Linked DNA regions of Homo sapiens: regions 1, 3 and 4 are each linked to region 2. The links are contacts of gene promoters, found by promoter capture Hi-C in blood cells and fetal thymus (Javierre and others, 2016). All regions are on one chromosome and are shown on one strand. Each heading gives the region's core, a stretch centred on a gene start or on the middle of the fragment in contact. The rest is flanking DNA. Distances are from core to core; before and after follow the strand shown.

Evidence for each region. The method cuts DNA at HindIII sites, captures the fragments that hold promoters and counts their contacts. A CHiCAGO score of 5 or more calls a contact.
Region 1: a fragment that was not itself captured here is called in contact with the fragment with the promoter of KIAA1191 in region 2 in 5 of 17 cell types (naive B cells, total B cells, naive CD4 T cells and 2 more); the score reaches 6.3 in naive B cells.
Region 3: a contact is called between a fragment that was not itself captured here and the fragment with the promoter of KIAA1191 in region 2, in 1 of 17 cell types (naive CD4 T cells). The highest score is 5.3, in naive CD4 T cells.
Region 4: a contact is called between a fragment that was not itself captured here and the fragment with the promoter of KIAA1191 in region 2, in 1 of 17 cell types (naive B cells). The highest score is 5.1, in naive B cells.

The regions. Positions count from the first base shown.
Region 1 is chr5:176,963,967-176,966,666 of GRCh38, reverse strand. All of the region lies in intron 6 of UIMC1 (ubiquitin interaction motif containing 1), which reads left to right. Among named protein-coding and RNA genes, the nearest start is that of UIMC1, 41 kb to the left of the region's middle. The HindIII fragment of the contact is 2,607 bases long and covers 26-2,632 here.
Region 2 is chr5:176,360,503-176,363,202 of GRCh38, reverse strand. KIAA1191 reads left to right here and starts at 1,439. Exons shown (of 9, transcript NM_020444.5): 1 at 1,439-1,601. RefSeq lists an enhancer at 1,364-1,683. The HindIII fragment of the contact is 14,901 bases long and covers 1-2,700 here.
Region 3 is chr5:176,993,392-176,996,261 of GRCh38, reverse strand. All of the region lies in intron 1 of UIMC1 (ubiquitin interaction motif containing 1), which reads left to right. Among named protein-coding and RNA genes, the nearest start is that of UIMC1, 12 kb to the left of the region's middle. The HindIII fragment of the contact is 4,492 bases long and covers 1-2,870 here.
Region 4 is chr5:177,071,694-177,074,434 of GRCh38, reverse strand. It overlaps a transcript of ZNF346 not described here. Among named protein-coding and RNA genes, the nearest start is that of FGFR4, 14 kb to the left of the region's middle. The HindIII fragment of the contact is 2,298 bases long and covers 218-2,515 here.

The sequences.
Region 1 (2,700 bases), core at 80-2,579, 600 kb before region 2:
CTAGATTATATTGTGTATGAAAGCTTATATCTTATTTTTCCCTTTGAATATTATAAAGCAATAATATAAACTCTTTATATATAAATTGTAATTTTAAAGAGTATTCTGTTTTATGACTATACTGTTTTTTCTTGCTATTTCTGTTACCAGACTTTGACTTTTGGTTTTGTTTTACTATTATGTTATTCTGTCTTTCTTGTGTTATGATAAAGGTTCAAGAAATGGTAACTTTGAGGAGCTTCATAGAATAGAGAACATGGATTTGGAGTTGAGTTCTGATTTTTGTGTTTAGTAATTTGTGTGTTTTTGAGCAAGTCACTTAACCTCTTTGAATCCCAGTTTCACGTCTATACAGTGGGAATAACAATTCCTATCTTTCGACAGTTATTTTAATGATTAAAGTGAATTTGTGTAAAATGTCTACTGCAATGCATAGCATAGGCACTGAACAACTGGTAATTCTCTCTAAGGGATCAAAGGTCATTCACTGGGGAGATGCCTCTAGGAATCATTATTTCCTAGTAACCATCTTCATTCACATTCTGGAAAGATTGTTGTCTAGGAAGAGAAGGCATTTTTATTTAAAGAAATTTTTTTTCTGAAGGTATATCAGCAAAGAAGGCATTTTTAAGAAATAGTTATTTTAGTGACTGGTTTCTTTTCCAAAGGAAAGTTACATGATGCTTATGATAAATGTTTAGTTTGTTCTTTCCAATTCGGAGATGCTGCTTCTTAAAATAATACATTAACTCCAAAGAGTGACACTTAATGATTTATTGTAATTCAAGTTGTTAGCTTGCAAGATCCCAGGGGCCAGAGCTCTACATCATAGACTTGTGTCAAGTTCTGTGTTGTGTCAAGTTTGAAAGTACTGCCTTTGCAGTAGCCTGGAAGAAGTCAAAATCTAGTGGATGGTCTTAATTAGATTGAAGTTCTTTGACTCTTAACTTCATGACCAGACCACCAAATACTACAGGTAGTATTATCAGTTAATACTATTTGCTGCAGTAAACTGAATTAAGCTAGCTTAATTAAAAAGAGGACTTGGCTAGGCACAATGGCTAATGCCTAATCTCAGCATTTTGGGAAGCTGAAGCAGGAGAATTCATTTGAGCCTGGGAGTTTGAGACCAACCCAGGCAACTTAGTGAGACCTTGTCTCTACTAAAATAAATAAATAAAAATAAAAAAATTAAAAGAGGACTTTATAAGGAAGCGAGGTATCTCAGAAGTTTTTTTTTTTTTTGAGATGGAGTCTCTCTGTGTTGCGCAGGCTGGAGTGCAGTGGCATAGTCTTGGCTCACTGTAAGCTCCACCTCCCGGGTTCACGCATTCTCCTGCCTCAGCCTCCTGAGTAGCTGGGACTACAGGTGCCCGCCACCACACCCGCCTAATTTTTTATGTATTTTTAATAGAGAAGGGTTTTCACCGTGTTAGCCAGGATGGTCTCGATCTCCTGACCTCGTGATCCACCCACCTTGGCCTCCGAAAGTGCTGGGATTACAGGCGTGAGCCACCGCGCCTGGCTTCAGAAGTTTTAAAATAGAACTATAACCAGGCCCAAAGAAGGTACTGGGCATCTGATTTTTCTGTATCTCATGGTTATATTGTGTCTGCTTCATTTTTCTCCCTGCAGACTTGGCACTCTTTTGCTTTTGTTTTTCAGGTGTAGGTTGAAGACACTGATTCTATAGCTCTCAAACTTATTATGGGTTACAGGAGACTTAATCTCTCCCAATTCAAATTTTAAATTTTCAGGAAAGGATTTATGGCCCATTTGGTGTCAGTAGCCCAGTCAGCTGTGGCTTGATGGAGGTTACTTGTCAAATTGGCTGTAAGCCCACTGCTAATGGGAATGGGAGGGGTGAGGGACAGTCCTCAGTGAAAGCAGACAAGGCAGACAACCTAGTAAGCATATAGACATTAACTTTAATAAAAAAATCACTTGGAGATGTTAAAAAATGCTGAAAAGTTTAAAGAATATTACCTATTTTTTGTATGGTTCAGATCATATTATTTTTGTATCTTTAATATCATGTAGACATTTTCTCATGTTAAATTATATATTTCACTTTTAATGGCTATATTATATTCCAGTTTATGAATTTACCATAATATTTTAAACATTTTTCTATTGCTGGATATTTCAGTTGTGATATCTTTCTATATGAAACTTTTCTTTATTCCTCATCAGTGTACTTAGTCATGAGCCATAAAAATGATGGGTTAAAGAGTTATGAACATAAAGACTTGATATTTATTGCCAAATTGCTTGTCAGAAAGGCTGTTACAATTTGTATTCTCTCCATTTGGCAATGTATGAGAATATCTAGTTCACTGAAGCCTTGCCAACAAATAATTGTACCTTTAAAAAACAAACTTCAACTAATTTTATAGGCAAATAATGTAGGTCCTGTGATTGTAGTTTTACCTCTCAATCTTTTGCTTTCAGGAAATGTGGGTAGAAAGAATTCGTTTGTTAAACATTTTCTATTGAACACAGCTTTGGTGGAGCTGCCTGTATTTGAGACTTCTTGGTTGATAGAGATAGCAAGAGAGTCTCAAAAATAGGGACTCAGAGAAACATTCACTTTGGGGCACATAACTTAGTCTATATTAAGGTTATTAAAGCTTTAGAATCAGATGATAACTGGTTTTTGGCATCACTGAGACAAGATAAAGTTGCTAATGAAGGCCTGTA
Region 2 (2,700 bases), core at 190-2,689:
ACTGCAGCCTCCGTCTCCCAGGTTCAAGAGATTCTCCTGCCTCAGTCTCCAGAATAGCTGGGATTACAGGCACCTGTCACTACGCCTGGCTGATTTTTGTATTTTAGTAGAGACGGGGTTTCGCCGTGTTGGCCAGGATGGTCTCGAACGCCTCAGCCTCTGAAAGTGTTGGGATTACAGGCCTGAACCACCGTGCCCAGCCAGAAAAAGTTGTTTTAATCAAATAGTAACTTCCAGGAAAGTCTTAAGTTTTCATGTATTTGTGGCTAAGAAATAAATGAGATGATCCCACCTTATGATCTACATAAGGGTGCAAAGTGCTATTTCTTCCTTTTCTGACTGAGAGGTGATATACATCCCTTCCTGTGGTGGATAAAGAGCAAGGTGCCAGCTTTGCTTCCACAGAGGTTAAAAAATATGGCATATTTTAAAAGCTCCAAATTAACAAAGGAACACCTTTAACACACACACGCACGCACACATATACACACAATTATACTGCAATGTAATTGTGCTGTTGATAAGCTAATTATAGAATTCATCAAAGACTTTAATTCTTAGTGCACTCAAGCACCCTGGTCTGGAAACAGCGCTTAAGTTTCAAGTCGCATGAGCAAGGCCTCTCAGTTCTGCCAGTACGGCTGGAAGCCTCAAATGCTGAAATCTAAATGTGACATTCACCCTGCACCACCAATCATAGCTCTCCTGAGATGAGTTTTGATGGCGAGCTTTGGACTGGGGTAGAAACGTGGATAGATTTTTGCAAATTCTGCTGTAACTTCGTTGCTTCGCCTTCTTTGTGAACCCTTCAGGGATAAGAGAAGTCTTCCTTCAGGATGTGACTGACACCTCAGCTGGCGCCTCTAAGCCTCACTCTCCTTTATGTAAAAGAGAAATGATATTAGGATCGCCTTCCCTAGGGGAGGCAGGTGAGGTCGGTTCCCTTTTTTGGTTCAGCTACTAGTACGAACCCTGCCTAACCCCGCTGTTTTGGGAGACAGTCCGTGCTCACTGCACCGCTTGCTAATCGAAGTGACTTCTCATCTCTCCCAGTCTCAGCTTCACCTCCGTGAAGTGGGAAAAACAGGATGACAAGTGCTCGCACTTGGCAGCCCTTTTTGAGCCTTGAGGGCTTGGGTTTGTGGGTGTCATTTTACTATGCTACCTCCGTCTTCCCTTAGCTTGTCACGGACCCAGGCACAGCACACGCGCTGAGGAAGTGGTGGTGAAGTGTGGCGTTTCCTCTCGGGGCTGGCGGATTCCACACTCGGAGCTGCGGCTCCACAACTCGCTGGGCGGCGAAGGGCATGGGGAGGGGGCGGGTCTCGCGATCGTGGACAACAACTCCCAGCATGCCCTGTGCTCCGCTGGGCCAAGTCTCGCGCGAGATCCCGCGGTCTCCGGAGGCTTTATCTGCAGTGCTGCCTGCCCGCTGGGTGGTACTGCTACCTAGTGGGTCTTGGGGACCTTCGAAATCGCCGCCGCTCTCACAATGGCTTGGGTCCAGACTGCGCCACAGCCTCTCGGGAGACGTGGGCCCTCGGAACCTTTTTAGTGCCGGACTCCGGGCCGCAGGCAGTCCCGCGGCAGCAGGATCACAGGTGAACAGATGGCGGGCCTGGGCCCTCCCTTGGGGCTGCGTTCTCTGGCGATCAGGAGGGGCGCTTCCGGCGAGGCCCGATCTCGGGGCCCCTCCAAGCCACTCCCCTCTCCCCGCACCTCTTAACCCTTCATCCCGGCTTCGAGCTCGGCTGGGTCGCCTCTTGCCTCCCTGGCTCCGCTCTCTGGGGTCTCCGTAATGGGGCTTCTCTCCGGGAATGCCCTGCAGCTCCCGTACGGGCTTCCCCTCCGCTTCGTGGGACCAGCCCAGCCCGAGCCCCCGCGGCTTGTCCTCAACCTCATCTCCCCACACCCCGCCTTCGGCTAGGGTCCTGGCCCTAATCTTAGCCTGGAGGGGTGGGTGAAGCAGCCGGCCTTTCGTATCCTGGCGGCACCGTCTTGTATATTGTGAAGGAGAGGCAGAGGGACGGTGAGCTGGGGGGTGGGGGCACAGGGAAAGGGAAAGGGGAAGGGGACGTGTCTGGGGCGGGAATGCTCCCTGGACTGGGAGGATGGCTGAATTCGGCCTTTGCGATGCTCGTTAGTGAAGAACTATCAATAACTTGTTTGCTCTGTCTGAGTCCTATCGGGATAGAGGGACGGTGTAGCAAGCTGAAAAACAAGAGTAACTTTCTCAGGCCCTCGTTTTAACTCCCCTGTAAACTGGGCATGAAACTACCTACCTTGCGCACGGACCACTTATCTGTGACCGTGGACAAATTTACTTAACTCCTCTGATTTTTAGTTTCCTTCTCTTTATTATTATTTTTAACATTTTTTTAATTTTTTTAATTTTTATTTTTGAGACCGAGTCTCACTCCGTCGCCCAGGCTGGAGTACAGTGGCTCGATCTCGGCTCACTGCAACCTCCGCCTCCCGGGTTCAAGCTATTCTCCTGCCTCAGCCTCCCGAGTAGCTGGGATTACAGGCGCCCGCCACCATGCCCGGCTAATTTTTGTATTTTTAGTAGAGATGGGGTTTCACCATGTTGGCCAGGCTAGTCTCGAACTCCTGACCTCAAGTGATCTGCCCGCCTGGGTCTCGCAAAATGCTGGGATTACAGGCGTGAGCCACCGCACCCGGCCAGTTTCCTTCTCTTTA
Region 3 (2,870 bases), core at 273-2,772, 630 kb before region 2:
GTCTGTTTTCCTTTAACTGTTGATTAGTTTTTTTCTAGTTTCATACAGGTAGAATCATAGTTTGTAGTCTTTTAGACATTGCTTCTTTTGCTCACCATAATGTCTTTGAGATTCATCTGTGTCGTTGGATGCATCAGTAGTTTGTTCCGTTTTATTGTTGAGCAATTTTTCATTGTAGAGATAGGTCTCAATTTGTTTATTCACATGTTGATGGATATGTGGGTTATTTCCAGTTTTTGTCCCTTATGACTAAGGCTGCTATGATGAACATTCACGTCTTTATTTCTCTTGAGTAAATACCTAGGAATGAAATGGCTGGGTAATGTAGTAGATACATGCTTATTTTTTAAGAAACTCCCAAACTGTTTTCCAAAGTGGATGTACCACTTTATATTCCTTTTTTTTTTTTTTTTTTTTTGAGATGGAGTTTCACTCTTGTTGCCCAGGCTGGAGTGCAATGGCATGATCTCGGCTCACCGCAACCTCTGCCTCCCAGGTTCAAGCGATTGTCCTGCCTCAACCTCCCAAGTAGCTGGGACTACGGGCTCCTGCCACCATGCCTGGCTAATTTTTTGTGTTTGTAGTAGAGATGGGGTTTCACTGTGTTAGCCAGGATGGTCTCGATCTTTTCACCTCGTGATCCACCCGCCTTGGACTCCCAAAGTGCTAGGATTACAGGTGTGAGCCACCGTGCCTGGCCTTTTTTTTTTTTTTTTTTTTTTTTGGAGACAGAGTCTTTCTCTGTCACCCAGTCTGGAGTGCAGTGGTATGGTCTCGGCTCCTGAGTTCAAGCAATTCAATTCTCCTACCCCAGCCTCCTGAGTAACTGGAATTACAGGTGCATGTCACCACACCCAGCTAATTTTTGCATTTTTAGTAAAGACGGGGTTTCACTGTGTTGGCCAGGCTGGTCTCAAATCCTTGTCCTCAAGCAATCTGCCTATCTCGACCTCCCAAAGTGCTGGGATTACAAGTGTGAGCCACCATGCCCAGCCCACAAGTTGTCATTTCATCTGTTGATGGAATCTGGGTTGTCTTTGGTGTTTGACATTATGGAAAGAGCTGCTATGAACATACATATACAAGTTTTTGGGTGGTAATGTTTTCATTTCTACTGAGTAATTAATAGTAGTGGAATTGAAGCAAAGTTAAAAAGAGAAAAACAAGTTTTCCTGTACTTGGCTGACTCACTCCAAGGCCAGCAATAGGCAGGGCCCTGGCAGAGCCTTGATAACACTATCTGAAAAGCCAGAGCCCAAAGGAATGAGCTCCAGATACTCTCCCAGCACACTGCCCCCCACACCCCGCCCCAGAGTGAGGATAAGAAAAGAAAACAAATTCCTTTCTCATAACTATTTCTACAAATACCTGTGTTTCACAAGTTTTGTAAGTTCCTGTTTTCCCTACTGTGCAGCTGCATGATCACAAGCTATGCCTGCGTTGCGAGACCTGTCGCAATTTAATTAACTGCCTTTGTTCTGCTTCTGTAAGCCTGCTTGCCTGCCCCATGAGTTTCGCACTGTCACATTCCCACCGCACCATTCAAACTAGCCAACTCCCTTTCAGAAGTGTGTATAAAAGTCAAGCCCTGTCTTTGTTGAGGGCTCAGCCTTTGGATGTTAATCTGCTGGGCTGGTGGCCACCTAAAGAAAATCCTCCTGTTCCACGCATTGGTCTCTCCAGTCTCCAGATTCCTGCAACAGAATGACTGGCTTACATGACAGTTATACTTTTTTTTTTTTTTTTTTTTTAAAGAAACTGCCAGTTTTCCAAAGTGGTTATGCCATTTTACATTCCCATTAGCAGTATATGAGAGGTTCATTATATTCTGCATTCCTGCCCACATTTGTATTGTCACTATTTTCAATTTTAGCCATTCTAATGGATATACAGTGTTAGGCCATTGTAAATTTAATTTGTAATTTCTTGATGAATAATGATATTGAATATCTGTTTGTTTTTCCTTATTGGCCTTTAGTATATCTGCTTTTGTGAAGTTTGTTAATATCGCTTGCTTCTTTTAAATATTGGTTTGTCTTTTTTTATTTTTTCTTTTGAGATAGGGTCTCAGTGTGTTGTTCAGGCTGGAGTGTAATTTTTGGAATCCACCTAGAGATGTAAAGTGACATAGCCAGCCTCCCAGTGTTTATGTGTTTAATAAGCATGTTTATGCTGCATTACCCAAGTGTTTTTTACTATTTCATCCTTTTCACACTTTGATTTTTGTATACTTTCTTCTTTTTTTTTTTTTTTGAGATAGAGTTTCACTCTTGTTACCCAGGCTGGACTGCAGTGGTGTGATCTTGGCTCACTGCAACCTCTGCTTCCTGAGTGCAAGCAGTTCTCCTGCCTCAGCCTCCCAAGTAGCTGGGACTACAAGTGCCTGCCACCATTCCCAGCTAATTTTTGTATTTTTAGTAGAGACGGGGTTTCACCATGTTGACCAGGCTGGTCTCAAACTCCTGACCTCAGGTGATCCTCCTGCCTCAGCCTCCCAATGTGGTGGGATTACAGGCGTGAGCCACCGCGCCTGGCAGATTTTTGTATGTTTTCCAGTACACAAAATACATACATTAGTATTCATATAGTTAAAAAAGTAAATATACATATGTTGTGGTTGTGCCTTACAAATTATCAGTAGAGATACTTTATAATTATTAGACTTTAAGTCTTTAAGTTCTGGGGTACATGTGCAGAACGTACAGGTTTTTTATATAGGTATATTCGTGCCATGATGATTAGATATATTTTTAAAAGGTAAGAAAATATTTGTGCCTGGGCATGGAGGCTCACATCTGTAATCCCAGCACTTTGGGAGACCTGGGTGGGAGGATCACTTGAGCCCAGGAGTTCGAGACCAGTCTGGGCAA
Region 4 (2,741 bases), core at 117-2,616, 710 kb before region 2:
TCTGTCTTCTTCTCTATGACAGGTGCTCCCTAAGAAGTGACAAAGAAGGCCACTAACAGCTCTGGGCTCGAGACATTCCCACTTGGCAACTTCTCAACTGTTCTGGCAAAAGCCAGGAGAGTGGAGGTCTTCCCCACCCGGACTACATAAGCTGAGGGTGGGGTTTTTCAAAGAAAAGCTTATTATAGGAAGAAGGGTAAACAGACACTAGGAAGCTTCTGATTATTATACCTAGTGATTCTGTGAGCCTTTACTGCACAAACTGTTCCCAAACTTAATTATTTAAAACAATGTATTATTTCTCACAATTCTGTGATTAGCTGGGCTCAGGTGGCAGTTCTGCTTATGCTGTGGATTGGCTATGCTAGAGGGTCTGGGATGTCCTCCCTCACATGTATGGAGCTGGCTGTTGGCTTCTCTCTCTACCTGGTCTGTGGTCGCCACATGGTCTAGCCCAAACTTCCTTTCACAGGGTCAGGAACGGAAGCTGCATGAGCACTTAAGTCCTAACCTTGGAAGTCGTACAGTCATGTTACTGAATTCTCTGATCAAAGCAACTCACAAGACTAGTTCAGATTCAAGAGACTGGGAAATGGACCCCCCCCCTCCCCCGCCCGCCCGATCTTGATGGGAGCAATGATAAAGTCACATTGCAAAAGGACACAGGCACAGGGAGGCAATGATTCATGGGAGGCCATTATTGAAACAATCAACTGTGTTCCACAACTCGCCTCTTCTAGTTCCTTTCACTAAGCCTCCTCCCACCCCAGCAACCTGGCTCCTTTGACCTTCATGACCACTAGAGGATCATCTCCCTCAATAAGTCTTTCCGGCCAGGTGCGGTGGCTCACGTCTGCAATCCCAGCACTCTGGTAGGCCGAGGTGGGAGGATCGTTTGAGCTCAGGAGTTCAAGACCAGCCTGGGCAACACAGTGGGACCTTGTGTCTACAAAAAATAAGATAATTAGCTGGGTGTGGTGGTGTGCGCCTGTAGTCCCAGCTACTCGGGAGGCTGAGGTGGGAGGATCACTTGAGTCAGTGAGGTCGAGGCTGCAATGAGCTGTGTTTGCACCACTGCATTCCAGCCTGTGTGACAGAGTGAGACGCTGTTTCAAAAAACAAACAAAATAAATGTCTTTCCTGTGAAATCCCAGCAATGGTCCCTACCAGACCATACCCATTTTTATTCATTTATTCATTAATGTATTCAATCACCAAGCAGTTATTAAAACATAAGCACAGTCCTATGCTAGGGACCAGGGATGCAGTATCATAAGACCCAATTCCTGCCCTCAAGCAGTTTCTAGTCTAAAAGAAGAGACAGGGAATTAGATCATCGTAACACAGCATATTAAGGGCTATGCTAGAGGGGAACACAGGGCATCTGGGAACACAAAGGGCAGCCAACTTGGCCTTGGGGGCCAGTGATCTCTGGATGAGTGGAGGTCCCCAGGTTGACAAGGGGAGCTGGAGCAAGTATTAGGCAGAAATCTTGGTTGCAAGTTATAGAAACTCAACTGACTTAAAGAAAAGTCATAACTAAAAAGTCCTGGGGGATATTAGCTTCAGGCATAGCTGGATCCAGGTAGTCATCAGAAATGAGTCTCTCCTTATCTGGAGTACAGTGGTGTGATCTCGGCTCACTGCAACCTCCGCCTCACGGGTTCAAGCAATACTCCTGCCTCAGCCTCCTGAGTAGCTGGGACTACAGACGTGCGCCACCACGCCTGACTAATTTTTGTATTTTTAGTAGAGACAGGGTTTCATCATGTTGGCCAGCTGGCCTTGAACTCCTGACTTCAAGTAATCTGCCTGCTTTGGCCTCCCAAAGTACTGGGGTTACAGGTGTGAGCCACCGAGCCCGGCCTCCTCTGTGTTGGCTTAGTTCTGAAGCAGGCTGTCCTTACATGCTGGACACTAACAGCTGAAGACTATGACTGTGATTACTCAGTCGGGTCACAGGCTCACTCCTGGAATCAGAGAGCAGGGCCAGTCCCTCGGAACCACAGGATCTGAGAATGGAGCAGGTTTGTCACCCAAAGGAGAAAAGGAAAAGAAGGGCTGTGGAGCTGGCCTGACATCAGGTGTACTTCTAGACAGGTGACTAAGTTACAGCCCTCAAACAGAGAGGGCCTCCTGAGGGAAATGTCCTGAGGGAAGGGGAAATCGGCCTTGGGAATGAGCAGAAGTGCTAAGATCAAATCTCTCTCCAAGGCTACTTCTTGGTTGTGTAAGCTCTGCAAGACTTTGTCCCTGACTTTCTCCTGTGAAATCAAGTCTTTGCCAGTTGTCCTGAGGGTTAACTGAAATAGCATATACAGGGGCTCGTGAAGTCACCCTGTTCTCTTCCCATTAAATCAAACAGTAAAGTCCCAGGGCTGGTCTACCTTGCTAGAAAAAAGAAGCTGACTCCACCTAGTGGCTAATGGGGTCATTGCACTGAAGAGTTGAACATTTACAGAACTGCGTTCTGATATTCCTAGACAGATGAAGCAGCATATATGAACAGTAAGCTTGGGAGAGACAGGCCGGGGACGGGTCTGCCCTGTCTCTGTAACAGGGCTTTGCACAGGGCAGAGAGGTGAGGTTAGGTGGATGGATGGTCAGAGGGAGAAAGTGTTCTTCCTATTGTATTTTACACTAGTGACTGCTCATCAGAGCATCTGGTTTGGGGGTGGGGACAGCTCATCTGGCAGGGACTGCTGTGAGGGAAGGAAGGGCTTTCTTCTTCTTCTTCTTTT